Regions from separate parts of the Homo sapiens genome. Here region 2 is linked to region 1. The links are contacts of gene promoters, found by promoter capture Hi-C in blood cells and fetal thymus (Javierre and others, 2016). All regions are on one chromosome and are shown on one strand. The core of a region is centred on a gene start or on the middle of the fragment in contact, and the rest is flanking DNA. Distances in the headings are between cores, read along the strand shown. Region 1 holds the start of UBE2R2 (ubiquitin conjugating enzyme E2 R2). Region 2 overlaps UBAP2 (ubiquitin associated protein 2).

Region 1 (7,870 bases), core at 2,593-5,092:
ATGGACAGAAGAAACTATCTTTGCCCATCCTACATCTATATGGCCCAAAACTAAGAATCACGTGGATTGGCGATATTAAATAAGCGAAAGCAGGATGAATAAAAAAATTCTGTGAAATACAGGTCTCACAAATCTCCAATGCAGATCCTGTGGGTAAGAGACAAGAGCCAACTATTTCAGGGTGAAAAAGATCAGTTAGAAACCTATTAATATATAAAAGTTAAAGGAATTACAGTATGAAAAATGTAAAGAATGACTGGCAGTCCCACTGCCTTCACGAATGACTATGCCAAAAAGGGAAAAGAGTTTAACTTGAAAATAAATTATACTAAATGTTCAAGGACTAACATTTAATAAGGGAGAAGAGTGATATGGTAGGGAAAGCTTTGTGCCAACTTTCAACTGCAGCTGTAGTGAAATACACTAAAAGCCTTGTCTTAAGACAAAAGCAGTAAAATAAAAACAATGGTTTTAAACATATCCCCAGTGTCAACTGCTCATGACCATAAATTTGCCTTTTTCTAATGAACAACTAATGGGATAAAAGGCCATATAAGGGAAAAAGTAGTCGAAAATACAATCGAACAAACTTCTCACACAAGACTAAACCATAAAACCTGTTTACAAATTTTCATACATGTCAGAATTAAAGGTAAAAACACTCAAAGCTTAAGAAATCTAACATCACAAAGCACGAGATTAAATCATTCTTTTAAACAAGGACTGAAGTTCAGAAGCATTTAATTTAAATCAGTGTATTAACACAAGGAATCCTTCCATACTTCCTATTTCAGAGAGGGTTCTCCACACTCCTTTCCCAGACTTATGCACAAATATTACAACTTGCAACCCATTATTTTCTCTCATGTACAAGTTTTGTTTTGTTTTGTTTTGTTTGCTCTTGTTTTTAACTTTATTGGAGTGAGATTATTCTAACTAGTACCCATTTATTTATTTTAAATATCGGTTGTACCAAACAATGACACTTTTTGGAAATCAAACTTTATTCCACTAACATTAGCCAGCAGATTTTGCTAAACAATGTTTTGTCAGAAAAGGCATCATGGCCGGGCGCAGTGGCTCACGCCTGTAATCCCAGCACTTTGGGAGGCAGAGGCGGGTTGATCACAGGGTCTGGAGTTCGAGACCGGCCTGGCCAATATGGTGAAACCCCATCTCTACTAAAAATACAAAAATTAGCTGGGCGTGGTGGCGTGCGCCTGTAGTCCCAGCAGCTTGGGAGGCTGAGGCAGGAGAATAGCTTGAATCTGGGAGGCGGAGGTTGCAGTGAGGCGAGATCGCGCCACTGCACTCCAGCCAGGGTGACAGAGCGAGACTCCGTCTCAAAAAAAAAAAAGAAAGGTATCACATACATTCAATTTTGTACAACTAATTTTTCCAGTATGCATAAAAATTTATATTTGACAACAGAGAATATGCTTCATCATAAACACAGCAATATCTTTTCCACTTTGTTACTAATAAGTTGCATGTTTTCTTAGTAATTTTAAATACCTCCATCTGAAAAGTATAGGGTAGGCTGACCACAAAAGATGAAGCCTAACAGTTGGTAGGGGTACCGCACTTACATAATATTCTAAAAACGTGCTTTTCCTAGGTACTCAGTGACTATATACAGTAGTGAATATTAAACATTCCTGTATCAATCCCATTTCCTACAAAGTTGACCTAATTTCAAGCATAAAACTGAGGTTTCCACCTTTAGAAGGGTAGAAAACAAGAGTTAAGTAATTGGGTAGTCCTAAAAATACACATCACAACTACATGACTAAGATACTCATTTAAAACTTGTGCCAAGATAACCCCTCCCTTCCAAACTAAAATTGACTCACTGGCCTATTTTACTTAATTTTGAAAATAAAAAAATAAAACTAAATGGATTCCTAAGCACTCATTTCCTCTCTCTGCCCCCATCATTTAAAATATTCAGACTTTCAATCTGTGATTCCTCCCTGCAAAAACACTCAAGTAAAAACAAAACAAAACAAACACTCATTATCTCCAAGTTAACTACCTTGGAGTTAAAAAAAAATCATTAGATTCTGGAATGATAACCACTGTTCTAAGACCATATAAAACAACAGAAACAATGTCTGTGGTCGCTAAGGAACCATACATCCCACCCAGAGAAACGATCTCGCCTCAGATGATACTTGTCATCTGTGAGACCACCCCTTTAGCTAGAGTTAACCACTTGAGCAGGTTTCAATTTTGTCTCTGAAAGTAGGAAGCTATCAGTCTCCCTACATGACTCGTTCCACCCTTTGTGGATACTTCTACCTGTAGAAAAAAAGGTTGGCAAACTTGGTGGCATGGTGAGGACAAAGGGCATTTTGAAAGAACCAGTGACTGAGGTAAGCAGAGAATGTGAACGGAAAGAGGGTTAAAGTTCCCCCAAATGGATAATGACAAGACGACGCGGGCACCCTTTTTTTTTTTTTTTTTTTTTTTACCACCCCTAGGGTCCCATTCTTCACCACCACCCATTGGAATGCAAAGTTGGCACTACCACTACCCAAGATGCCCAACAAATCCTCAAAATGTCAGGGCACTCGGCAGCTTCTGAAATGACAAGCTGGTGCCCCTCCCCCACCCCACCCCCACCCCCACCCCCCAAAAAAGAAAAGTCCAATCCAGTCGGTGCAGGTCACCCTGCCCTCTGGGGCAGTTCCAGCCTGCGCAGGGAGGGGTTCCGACCGGAGAACGAAAAAGCACAGATAGACCACCGCTCTTTCCACCCACCCTCAGCGGGGGAAACAAAGGCGGCCTCCTCCGCCCGTAGACACTACCCTAACCAGAGAGGCTCTCCGATTTCCCGGTGCAGCCTGCCCTCCCGCCCCCGCCCGAGCCCCCGCCCCCATGACAAAGAAAAGGCACTCGGCGAGCAAGGCCTTCCTGCCTCCAGGGATGGGGGAGGGGGCTGCACGGGTGAGAAGCCCCCTCCACTCGCCCGTGCTCATACTCCTGGTCCCAGGAACTGCAGAAAGCGGCGGGGAGCCGGAGGCCTCGGCCGCGGAAGCAGGGTCCGGGAGGAGGGTGAGGGTACCTTGAAGTAGCCGCCTTCGTAGAGGGTGTTGGGGGGTCCGAAGATGGCCACCTCCCAGTTGTAGAGGTCGGACTCGTCCACCAGGGTGATCCGGAAGCCCTCCACCGGTTCCTCCTGCAGGGATTTCAGCTCGAGCATCAGGGCCTTCTGCGAGCTGGTCATCTGCTGCTGGGCCATCGCGGCGGCGGCGGCGGCGGCGGCGCCGGGCCCGGGCCCCAGTCCTCACGCACCGGCCGGGCCGGACCAGGCCCCTCCCCTCCGCTCGCCCTCCGGCCGGGCAGCACCGGGCCCCGGTCTTCACACACCCGGCGGGCCAGACCAGGCCCCACACGGCCCGTGGGCCCGCCCGGGGTCCTCCTCACACACGACGCAGGCCGGGCCGGGCCCTTCTCCTCACACTCGGGCCGGGCGAGAGGAGAGGTCGAGGGAGTTAGGAGAATTCGCTACGGGTCCCGGTCCCGGGCCTCCCCCCCCCGGAGGGGGCCTCAACTTGGGGGGGGGGAGAGGAGGTGGAAGCGGAGGAAGGCGGCGGAGGGCCGGCGATGGTGAAGGGAGGGGGCCGGGCCGGCCCGGGAACGCCGCGCTCGCTCGCCCTCTCGTTCTCTTCGGGGGCCGCAGGGGCCGGAGGGCGCGCGGGGCAGGAGAGGGTGGGGGGAGAGCGGCGTGCGGGGGTCTCGCGGCGGTGGCGGCGGGGGCTGCGCGGGGGGAGGGGCGACGGCGGAGGAGGAGGAGAGCGAGAGCGCCTCGCGCCGCGGGAGCAACGGAGCCGAGAAGCAGGGAGGGAGGGAGGGAGGGAGAGAGGGAGGAGGGGCGCACGCCGGGTGCTGGGCGGCTCTCAGCGGCTGGCGGCCCGACGCGCGTGCGCGTGCCCCTCCCTCCCCTCCCCCCACCGTGCCTGGCTCTCCTCCACTACCACCTCCTCCTCCTCCCGTTTCCACGCCTCCTCTCGGTCTCCCGCGCGGTCGCGGCGCTTTGTGACGCTGGCGCGTGTCCCCCGCCCATAAAGATCCCAGAAGCAGCGGGGACCAAGGGCGGGCGCAGGGATTGCCGTGGCCCCAGAGTGACGGTTGTGCGGCTGGACGCCGCAGTTCCAAAGGCGTGCCCGGGAAGGGAACCCAGGTCTCCCGGCTCTCGGGGCCCTCCCCACTGTGGATCCAGGGGCCTCCGCAGCCATCCTGGGACGGGCCTGGTCGCTGCAGGCCCCTCCCCGTGACACCCAGTCTGCGGTCCCTCCACTTAGTAGCTACTTGATTAGGATGTGCTGACAATGTGGGTCTTTTCGGTGGGAACAGACCTTCCCGCAGGCCAGCCCACAGGCAAGTGTGCCCTTTGGCACGTTACTCACCCTGGGTGCGGCAGTTCCACGTGAGAAACGGGGTGAGACAAAAAGGTCAGCTTCTGCTTCCCTTCTTAACTACAAAGAGGAAGTTGTGAGGAAAAAGACAATAACAAACTGGGTCTCTAGCCCTTCTCATTGTGATTTGGGGCAAGTGCTCAGGCTGCCCTTCGCCTTCGCCATTTGTAAAATAAACTACTGTGGTTGAACTTAGGGGTCAAAGTTCCCTATAGGTGCTTGTGGCTTGAATGTCCACCCTGGAACTGAGGGACTTTCGAGATAATCATAACCGAAGTGAGATGTGGGGACAGTCTTTGGTCCCCCCGTGGTTCAGAATACAGTACTCCTTTCTCCTAGGAAGGCATGTCCTAGGATAACTGCCTAAAAAACATTTCCTAGAAAAGCCAGAATATTGTGAGAGTTCTACACACACAGTTTCGGAACTAGACAGATCTTGGTTCCAACCCTAGTTCCATTACTTCTCCCTGTATCATCAGTTTTTTGTTTTTTGGTTTTGTTTTGTTTGAGACAGGGTCTTGCTCTGTCACCCAGGCTGTAGCACAGTGGCGCGATCATGGCCCACTGCAACCTCCGCCTCCCAGGTTCAAGCGATTCTCCCACCTCAGCCTCCCAAGTAGCTAGGACTACAGGTGCATGCCTCCACACCCGGCTGTTTAATCAGCTTCTGTAAAAGGGGATTAATTATACCCAACACAAGCAATTGTAATGATTAAATGTATGTACAGCATTTAGCGTAGTGACTGGCACATGGTTAATGATTCATAGAAACTTGAAAGAAAAAAACTTTAAGGCATAGCTGTATTCTGGATACCACCACTACCCACCCCTTTTATTGAGACAGGGTCTTACTCTGTTGCCCAGGCTGGAGTACAGTAGAGTGATTATAGCTCACTCTAGCAGTAACCTCCTGGGCTTAAGCCATCCTCTAACCTCAGTCTCCCAAGTAGCAGGACCACAGGTGTGCACAGCCATGCCCAGCTAATTTTTGTATTTTTAGTAGAGACGGGATTTCACCATGTTGGCGAGGCTGGTCTCCAACCCTTGACCTCAGGTGATCCGTCCACCTCAGCCTCCCAAAGTGCTGGGATTACTGGCGTGAGCCACTGTGCCCAGCCAAGGACAGTTTTAGATTTATAGAAAAATTGAAAAGATAGTCAAGTTCCCCTACACCTGGCGCCCAGTTCCCCCTTTTATTAACATATTACATTAGTAGAGTACATGTATTACAATTAATGAGCTAATATTGATACATCACTGTTGACTGAAGCTCATACTTCCCTAATTTTTACCTACTGACCTTTTGCTGTTCCAGGATCTCATCCAGGATACCAGACTACATTCAGTTTTCCTGTTTCTGTAGATTCCTCTTGACTGTGGCAGTTTCTTAGACTTTGTTCTGATGACCTTAACAGTTTTGAAGAATACTGGTCAAGTATTTTGTAGACTGTCCCTCAATTGGGATTGTGATGCTTTTCTCATGATTAGACTGGGATTATGAGTTTTTGAGGGTAAGATCACAGAGGTGAAATGCCATTTCATCACATCATATTAAGGGCACAAATAGCAACATGACTTAGCAATGTTGATGTTGACCTTGATTGTCTGGCTGAGGAAGTGTGTCAAGTCTTTCTACTGTAAAGTTACTCTGCCCCTTCCTCCCCTTTTCTATACTGTACTCTTTGGAATGGAGTCACTCTACACAATCCACACTTAAGCAGCCCCCCCTCCTTTTTTTTTGGCCTTTTTTTTCCTGTAAAAGACGAGGTCTCAGTGTTTTAAAACATCCTTTTCTAGCCGCCAACGCTACTGTCCAGGTCTTGAGACCGAACTCTACTGGAATTAGAGCTCCCCTCAGAGAAGAGGGAGTATCCTAGTGAATGCAGCCCCTCTTATCAAAATGATGGTTTATGTCCCATTCTGTCTTTCCCTCCAGTACCAGTCAATTTAGGGACAAGAGGATTGCTGACCCGGAAATGTGAAAGATGATGTTGACACCTTTAATAGCAAGGCGGTGAGCAGATAAATAGGTAGAAAGGTCATCTTCAAAGCATTTCACCCACAAAAACTCATCACAGCCCCACCCTGACCTGGAGGGTGATGAAGCCCTAGTCTAACCCACTGGAACGTATACCTGGCACTCAGACCAGAAGCGGCCCCCTGGGCTCATGTCAACTCACAAACTCACTAAGCATCCACTGCGGGCATGCCTCTATGCTGGGAGGTTGGAAGCTCAATGCGTTAATGAGTTTTATAATCAAGGCTGTTTATTCTCAGGTCACAGGAACTGGAATTCCACAGAACTAGCTCATGTGTTTTTATTCTAGCCAGTAAGACATTGTTTATTAGTAGACTGCCACTGTGTCTTATTCATGCCTGAATCCTCAGCAACAGGCACACCATCTGACACAAAGTAGACACTAAGTAATTGTTCTCAAGAGACTCATGGCCAAGGACAGGAAGACAATGAGTAATCACAAAATCACAAATTGAACCCTACCCTCTATCCCCATGCCTATCTGTTCTCTCAAGCACATAGTAGGTGCTCAAGACTATAAATTCCAAAACTCTACACCAGCTACTCCAATGTTTGGCACATATTAAGTGCTCAAAACATATTTGTTAAAAAGAATGAATGCTAGAAACAGCTTCCTAGAGCTTTCTCATATTGTTTCATAATGGCATGTAGATTGACTTGCCTGATTGGTGCCCTCTGGTGGTAAAGAAAAACAGCACTCAAAATTTAAATTTAAAAAATAATATTTTTTTTTAAAAAGAAAACAGAGCGCTTAACGCTCAGTGTCAGGCATCACCTGGTACTTTCCAACCAGGGTACTTCTTCTTCTTCCTCTTCTTTTTTTTTTTTTTTTTTTTTTAACTGAGACAGAGTCTTGCTCTGTCACCCAGGCTGGAGTGCAGTAGCATGATTTTGGCTCGCTGCAACCTCCGCCTCCTGGGTTCCAGCAATCCTCCCACCTCAGTCCCCGGAGTAGCTGGGACTACAGGCGCAGTGCCACCACACCGGACTAATTTTTGTATTTTTAGTAGAGACAAGGTTTCATTATGTTGCCCAGGCTGGTCTTGAACTCCTGAGCTCAAGCAATCCGCCCACCTCAAACTCTCAAAGTGCTGAGATTACAGGTGTGAGCCACCATGGCAGGCCCACTACTAATTTTAGAGGAAGACTGTGGCTCCTTAAGAGTAGTGTCCAAGTTTTACATATATGTTAACATATTAAATTTCAAAAAGTTGGCCAGGCGCAGCGGCTCATGCCTGTAATCCCAGCACTTTGGGAGGCTGAGGCAGGCAGATCATTTGAGGTCAGGAGTTCGAGATCAGCCTCGCCAACATGGTGAAACTTTTTTCAACATGGTTAAATTTTTTTCCTAAGTATTTTATTTTCTTGTAGCTATTATAAATGGGATTTCCTTCTTGAATTCTTTCTCGGC
Region 2 (7,870 bases), core at 1,973-4,472, 210 kb before region 1:
CAACCTCCTGAATGGGTGGGATTCCAGGTGTGCGCCACCAAGCGTGGCTAATTAAAAAAAAATTTATTGTATAGACGAGGACTTGCCACGCCGCCCAGGTTTGCTCACCTCCTGCTGTGCGGCCCAGTTCCTAATTACCCCAGTCTGCAGCCTGGGAGTTGGGGATTGGGGATCCCTGCTTTATAGTATAGGCTTTTTTGCTTTTTTTTTTCCTTTTTGTAGGAGAGAGAGAACTGTTATAAGTAGTGGTGAAGACTGGTTATGAATAATTACATGCTTTTCAAGAGATTCCAGGGTGAAGAGTCCTGGTTACCTGCTGGGCAAAAGACAAGGTTTAAGGCTGGTCGCAGTGGCTCGTGTCTGTAATCCCAGCACTTTAAGAGCCTGAGGTAGGCGGATCACTTAAGGTCAGGAGTTTGAGACCAGCCTGGCCAACATGGTGAACCCCATCTCTACCAAAAATACAAAAAATTAGCCGGGCGTGGTGGCGGGTGCCTGTAATCCCAGCTACTTGGGAGGCTGAGGCAGGCTAATCGCTTGAACCCAAGAGGCAGAGGTTGCAGTGAGCCAGTGTTGCGCCACTGCACTCCAGCCTGGGTGACAACAGTGAAACTCCATCTCAAAATAAATAAATAAATAAATAAATAAATAAATAAGACAGGGTTTACAGCTGAATTAGCAGGATAGGAATAGGACAGATGTGTGCAAACAGCTATGGGCAATTAATTCCCTTCGTGGCCTTAGGTAACCTGAAAGAGAATTGTGACGATATCAAATAAATTTTGATGTCCTATAGTGTTTGAGTTCACCAGCACTCATCCTTTCCATGGGCAGGTTATATCCATGGAACAGCAGATAACTTTGTGATTCTTCTGTCAGCGAAGTGTGGGTGTAGGGGAGTTCAACCTTGTCCATCAGCTGCTAGAGGCCTGACCCTGCCCTTAACAGCTGCAGAGAATAAAAGTATCAGCTTGTTCAGCTCCTGGCATGCAGGGTACAAGCAGTTGAGCTGCATGGAATTGGATCTCATAGTTGAGTTTCTTGGCACCCTAGATACCTTGTTCTCTCCTCGATTACGGGTGTAGACTTTGTGTTGGTGGCTGTTCTGGGCCTCCTAATTTAGTTGAGATTCTTTTCTTTTCTTTTTTTTTTTTTTGAGATGGAGTCTCGCTCTGTCGCCCAGCCTGGAGTGCAGTGGTGCAATCTCGGCTCACTGCAAGCTCTTGCCTCCCAGGTTCACACCATTCTCCTGCCTCAGTCTCCTGAGTAGCTGGGGCTACAGGTACCCGCCACCACCCCCGGCTAATTTTTTTTTTGTATTTTTAGTAGAGATGGGGTTTCGCCGTGTTAGCCAGGATGGTCTCGATCTCTTGACCTCATGACTCGCCTGCCTTGGCCTCCCAGAGTGCTGGGATTACAGGCGTGAGCCACCGTGCCTGGCCTATTTTTTTCTTTTTTAAATAATAGAAATGGGGTCTCACTGTGTTGCCCAGGCTGGTTTTAAACTCCTGGGCTCAGGCGATCCTCCCCCTCTTGGCCTCCCAGACTGTTGGAGTTACAGGCATGAGCCACTATGCCAGGCCAGATTCTTTTGTTTATTTTTTAATAAATAAATTCAAGTGGATTCTCCTGCCTCAGCCTCCCGATTTGCTGGGATTACAGGCATGCGCCACCACACCTGGCTTATTTTTTGTATTTTTAGTAGGGTAGGGTTTCACTATGTTGGCCAGGCTCATCTCAAACTCCTGACCTCAAGTAATCCTCCCGCCTCAGCCTCCCAAAGTGCCGGGATTACAGGTGTGAGCCACCGTACCTGGCCTTGGCCTCAGATTCTTAATCTGAGCTTTGTCTTCTGCAGGTATGAATAAATGAATTTCCTCTGCAGAGAAGGTTGAGAATATTGACTGTTTTCTTAGTAGAAAATGCGGGAACACAGATTAGAAATTAAACAAAAATAATAGTAGTGGTCACAGAAATATACCAGTATAGAACATATGGGTATCTGAAAGGCTGAGAAGCTAGGTGAGATCTGATCTAGACCAGATCTTTGTCATCAGGCACAAGCTTTGCAGGTGATGCCAACAATAGTTATGCTGTTGTATAGAAGAAGAAGCTGAATTGGGAACTATTATTTATCTGTGACTGAACAGTTAGCCTTACAACATAGCATAATAGTTAAGTGCACACACTGTAGAGCCAAATGTCCTGGGTTTGAATACTGCCTTCACCACTTACTAGCTGTGATTCTCTGTGTATCTTAGTTTCCTCTCTGTAAAATGGGAGTAAAGTAATGTGTACTCTAGAGTGTTGGAAAGATTAGTGACTTAATACTGTACATATAAAGTGCTTAGAATGGTGTCTGGCACATAGTGAATGGTATGTGCTTTCTGCTAGTATTGTCATTACCATTGGTTTTAGATTTTGGGAATGAGTGGACATATATAGATGAAGGACCTGAGACCCATCCTTGCCAGTTTGAGATAGACCCTGCACCACTGGTCTCATGACTCAGTGAACAGCATCTCTGGACATTCTTGATGAAGACTTGCTTCTTTAACATAAATTGTGTATCCTGTTTTTAGTAGTTGAACCCTTAGCCCATTATGTAATTCATGTCATCTGAATTATATTTGGTTTGAAAAAAACATTAGTTTTTCTGTTCCTGAAACGTAAATTTATTTGATGTAGTAGCTGAGATACTTTGCACAAGTGTGTCAACATCCTGGTTTTAGAACTATCTTCCAATCAATGCTTTGTGATGCTGTCTTAAATACATGCAGTGTAAGTATGTAGTTTGGGATTTAATTAACTGTTCAAACTTTTATTAAATGTCTGTTGAAATCTTCCCTCTTCTCAGTATGTTGTCAGCAAGTGTTCTGTAACTTTTCAGAATGATAAAATGTGTCCTTGCTTTTCGTTTAGGGTATATACATGGTTTTTAGAAAAGTTTTTACCCGACCGTGTTTTTTGTATGCCTTAAAGTTAGATGAATTTGTGCTTATGTAAGCTTTAACAGAAATGTTGGTGGTTGTTAAGTCAACCATTTTCAGTTAAGTCTAAACTGAGATCACTTGAAAATGCGGCTGTTTCACTGAGGTATCTTATCTTCAGAAAGGTCCTTGAAAAAAACAGCAGTTAAACCGGGCATGGTAGCTCAGGCCTGTAATCCTAGTTCTTTGGGAGGCCAAGGTGGGAGGATCACCTGAGCCCAGGAGTTTGAGACCAGCCTAGGCAAATATGGGAAGATCGTATGTCTATGAAAAAGAAAACAAAAACGGAAACAAAACTTTTTAGGCAGTTAAAACTTTTTTCCAAAACTATTCCTTTCATAGAGAATATCTTTGTAGTTTTATCAGGTTGGTTTATTCGGCCGGAGACTTTCTTTCCTCATTACATTTAGACAATTTTTTCACTTTAATCGTTAATAGGAAGCTTTATATTATATTTTGCTGATTTTGTTTCTAAAGAAGTTAAAAATGTAGCAGCAGTTCTTTACCTGTGTTAAAATCTATCACATCTTTAATTCACTTTGAGGTGAGATAAATACGGGTTTCAAAATTTGGTTGGATAGATTGAAGTAAGCCTGGTGCTTCCTGCCCCTCAAGAACTTGAGATAGGTATGTTTGAGTTTCTACTGGATTATTTTTAGAATCTTTTGCTCTTGTCTGTTTCTATTCTGAGAATTCTCTTGGAACCTGTTCCAGTGTAGTAGAACTCTTGGGAGTGGAAAGTGATAGATGATGGAACACAAGTGTACACTGAATTCCTATGGTCTGGCAACTGGGTACTTGTTGTAGAAGCATTCCTATTTACTACACACAGCTCCATTTCCCAGAAAAGGAGGACATAGAAGTTCCTCCTAACAGTATGTTAGTTGAAGGTGTTGATTTTTACGGTCTAGTTTCCATGTCTCAGTCATTTTTACAGTTCAGTGGTGGTAACAATTTTTAAGGGTCTTGAAGAATATTTTGGTAACTTACGCTTTTACCTTGATTTAATGGATTCACAATTATCAGAAGTTTTTTTTTTTTGGGGAGACAGAGTCTTGTTCTGTCGCCCCGATTGGAGTGTAGTGGCATGATCTCGGTTCACTGCAACCTCCGCCTCTCGGGTTCAAGTGATTCTCCTGCCTTAGCCTCCCAAATAGCTGGGATTACAGGCTCACGCCACCACACCCAGCTAATTTTTGTAGTTTTAGTAGAGACAGGGTTTCGCCATGTTTGCCAGGCTGGTCTGGAACTCCTGACCGCAAGTGATCCACCCGCCTCAGCCTCCCAAAGTGCTGAGATGACAGGCATTAGCCACCGCGCCTGGCTTTATCAGAAGTTTTATGTAAAATTAATACGGGAAAATTTGTCTGTTGAATCATGCATCCTGTTAAAGTTATTTTCTGACCCGTTTTTCCAGAAGATTTCAGTCACATCCCCCATCCCCTGTGATTGTTGTGCGAAACCTGTTTCATCTCTGGAAATTTTTTTGCTGGACATCTTTAATATTAAGACTTTTTATGAATAGGGAATTAGGTATTATAACATTTCAGTGATAGTGTGGAGAGGCACAACTGACAGAAGACAAGTTAATCTGAATTTATTTAAGCATGCATTCTTGGATGTCCTGAGGCCCTTACAATTATTTTTATTTTTCAAAGAATGTATTTGCTATTTTTTTTTTTTTTGAGACAGAGTTTTGCTGTTGTTTCCCAGGCTGGAGTGCAATGGCGCAATTTTGGCTCACCGCAACCTCTTCCTCCCGGGTTCAAGCGATTCTCCTGCCTCAGCCTCCTGAGTAGCTGGGATTATGGGCATGTGCCCCCACGCCCGGCTAATTTTGTATTTTTAGTAGAGATGGTCGGGCTGGTCTTGAACTCCCGACCTCAGGTGATCCAGCCGGCTCGGCCTCCCAAAATGCTGGGATTACAGGCGTGTGCCACCGCGCCCATCCTTGTATTTGCTATTTTTATTTTTATTTTTTTTTGAGACAGAGTCTTGCTCTGTCACCCGGACTGGAGTGCAATGGCGCCATCTCGGCTCCCTGCAGACTCCGCCTCCCAGGTTCAAGCGATTCTCCTGCGTCAGCCTCCTGGGTAGCTGGGACTACAGGTGCGTGCCACCATGCCCGGCTAATTTTTTGTATTTTTAGTAGAGATGGGGTTTCACCTTATTAGCCAGGATGGCCTCGATCTCCTGACCTCGTGATCCGCCTGCCTTGGCCTCCAAAGTGCTGGGATTACAGGCGTGAGCTACTGCACCCGGCCTGTATTTGCTATTTTTAAGCTAGAAGTCTTTGTAGTAACAATTTATGAATATATAACCCAGAGCAGTAAACCTTAATTAAGAGAAAAACTTTTTCCAAACAATAAAGTAAGCCATGTAGTTTTTATGTTTCACAAAGCAACTATTCTGGTTTAGCCATGCAACCGGGTCATTATTTATAGGCTAATTACGTATTCATTGTGGAATATTAAGAATTGATGATTGGAAGGAGATATAGTCTTAATGTTGATACTGTGAACATGGACCAGTAAAATTTTAATAGTTTGCGTTATAACAAAGAGTTATGGTTTTCTTCCTTGACAAGTGAGGATTCATGTACATTATATCAAAATGTTTGGTTATAGTAGTGAGGCTATAAAGATTAAGTCATTTTTCTGTAAATCAAAAAATTAATGTACATTGAATATGGGTTAAGTATATTTCTTCTGTACATGCAGATTTTTATCACCAGATGGCACTCCTGTATGGAGAAAGTCTCATTTTGTTATTTCACCTAGATTATTTTCTTTCTTTTTTTTTTTTTTTGAGACAGTCTTGCTCTGTTTCCCTGGAGTGGAGTGGTGCGATCTCAGCTCACTGCAACCTCTGCCTCCTGGGTTCAAGCGATTCTTCTGCCTCAGCCTCCCGAGTAGCTGGGACTACAGGCGCGTGCCACCATGCCTGGCTAATTTTTTGTATTTTTGGTAGAGACAGGGTTTCACTGTATTAGCCAGGATGGTCACCATCTCCTGACCTCGTGATCCGCCTGCCTCGGCCTCCCAAAGTGCTGGGATTACAGGCGTGAGCCACTGCACCCAGCCGATTATTTTCATAAATGGGGTCACTGAGAATAAACAGTGAGAAAAAGATCAGATAATCCAATCAACAGAACTGGAAATCTATGAGTAAACTACTCACTTCTTAAAAAGGTTTTGTGGTAGGAATACTACTCAACAAGTTAGCTTTTGATTAGATGCTTAATTCTGTTTTATTCTTTTCTTAAAATGTATTTATTTAAGGAGATAGGTGGCTGGGCATGATGGCTCACACCTGTAATCCCAGCACTTTGGAGGCTGAGGCTGGTGGATCACTTGAGGTCAGGAGTTCAAGACCAGCCTGGCCAACATGGTGAAACCCCATCTCTACTAAAAATACAAAAAAAATCGGCTGGGCACGGTGGCACATACCTATAGTCCCAGCTACTTGGGAGGCTGAGGTGGGAGAATCACTTGAACCTGGAAGGCAGAAGTTGCTGGGCCGAGATCGTGCCACTGCACTCCAGCCTGGGCAACAAAGCCAGACTGTGTCTTAAAAAAAAAAAAAAAAAAAAAAGGGGTCTTGCTGTGTTGCCTAGCCTGGATTTGAACTGTGGGTTAAGTGATCTTCCTGCCTCAGCCTCCTGAATAGCTGGGACTTACAGGTGCATGCCACCTTGCCCAGCTTGGATGCTTCACTTTAGATACTTAAGATGGAATTGCAGAGTATTAGTGCTGAAGGTGATTTTTTTATTTTTATTTTTTTAGATGGTGTCTCGCTCTTGTTGCCCAGGTTGGAGTGCAGTGGTGCAATCTCAGCTCACTGCAACCTCCTCCTCCTGGCTTCAAGCGATTCTCCTGCCTCAGCCTCCTAAGTAGTTGGGATTACAGAGGTGCGCCACCATGCCCGGCTAATTTTTGAATTTTTAATACAGGTAGGGTTTCACCACGTTGGCCAGGCTGGTCTTGAACTCCTGTCATCAGGTGATCTGTCTGCCTTGGCTTCCCAAAGTGTTGGGATTACAGGTGTGAGCCACGGTGCCTGGCCTGAAGGTGATTTTAAAAATAATCCAATGGGGCCGGGCACAGTGGCTCATGTCTGTAATTGCAGCACTTTGGGAGGTTGAGGCGGTTGGATCACCCGAGGTCTGGAGTTCGAAACCAGCCTGACCAACAAGTTGAGACCCCATCTCTACTAAAAATACAAAAATTAGTCGGGCGTGGTGGCAGGCGTCTGTAGTCCCAGCTGCTTGGGAGGCTGAGACAGGAGAATCGCCTGAACCCGGGAGACGGAGGTTGCAGTGAGCTGAGATCACATCACTGCACTCCAGCCTGGGTGATGGAGCGAGCCTCCGTCTCAAAAAAAAAAAAAAAAAAATCAAATGGATTCTTTCTCAAATACAGATATGCCTTACATTTGTTTAAATGCATCACAGTTTTAAAACAGTGTGTTCGTATGCATTTATTCATATCTGAGAGAATGCTTTAAAAATAAATGGAATCATGGCAAAACAATTAACCTTGTTCTCTATAATACAACCAAAATGATAAACCCAAACCAACAAAATTATAAAGTTGTTAAACTGAAAAAGGATGCAAAATGTGTATTCATACTGACTGGAGAGGCAGATTCAAATGCAGTAAAAAGTTTTAAACCAGTGTATTGAGGCTGTGAGAAATTCTAGATAATTGGTTGTTACTATAATGTAAAAGGCAGTACAATAATATGTCTGTGGCCTTTAGCAAGCCAGTTAATGAAGCTGTTGAAAAAATAAGTTAATATTAGTGCAGCTAACACAGAAAAATGCTTGTCAGACCTTTTCTGGCTAAAATAGGTTTCAGGGACACAATTTTCTTTGGTAC

The links. The method cuts DNA at HindIII sites, captures the fragments that hold promoters and counts their contacts. A CHiCAGO score of 5 or more calls a contact.
Region 2: a contact is called between a fragment that was not itself captured here and the fragment with the promoter of UBE2R2 in region 1, in 1 of 17 cell types (fetal thymus). The highest score is 6.3, in fetal thymus.

What each region holds. Positions count from the first base shown.
Region 1 is chr9:33,813,132-33,821,001 of GRCh38, reverse strand. It overlaps UBE2R2 (ubiquitin conjugating enzyme E2 R2), which reads right to left and starts at 3,842. Exons shown (of 5, transcript NM_017811.4): 1 at 3,068-3,842. The coding sequence starts at 3,244. It overlaps UBE2R2-AS1 (UBE2R2 antisense RNA 1), which reads left to right and starts at 2,134. Exons shown (of 5, transcript NR_170204.1): 1 at 2,134-2,375. RefSeq lists silencers at 3,223-3,392, 3,463-3,672, 3,853-3,952 and an enhancer at 4,243-4,332. The HindIII fragment of the contact is 11,190 bases long and covers 671-7,870 here.
Region 2 is chr9:34,021,148-34,029,017 of GRCh38, reverse strand. All of the region lies in intron 1 of UBAP2 (ubiquitin associated protein 2), which reads left to right. Among named protein-coding and RNA genes, the nearest start is that of UBAP2, 24 kb to the left of the region's middle. RefSeq lists a silencer at 740-940. The HindIII fragment of the contact is 425 bases long and covers 3,010-3,434 here.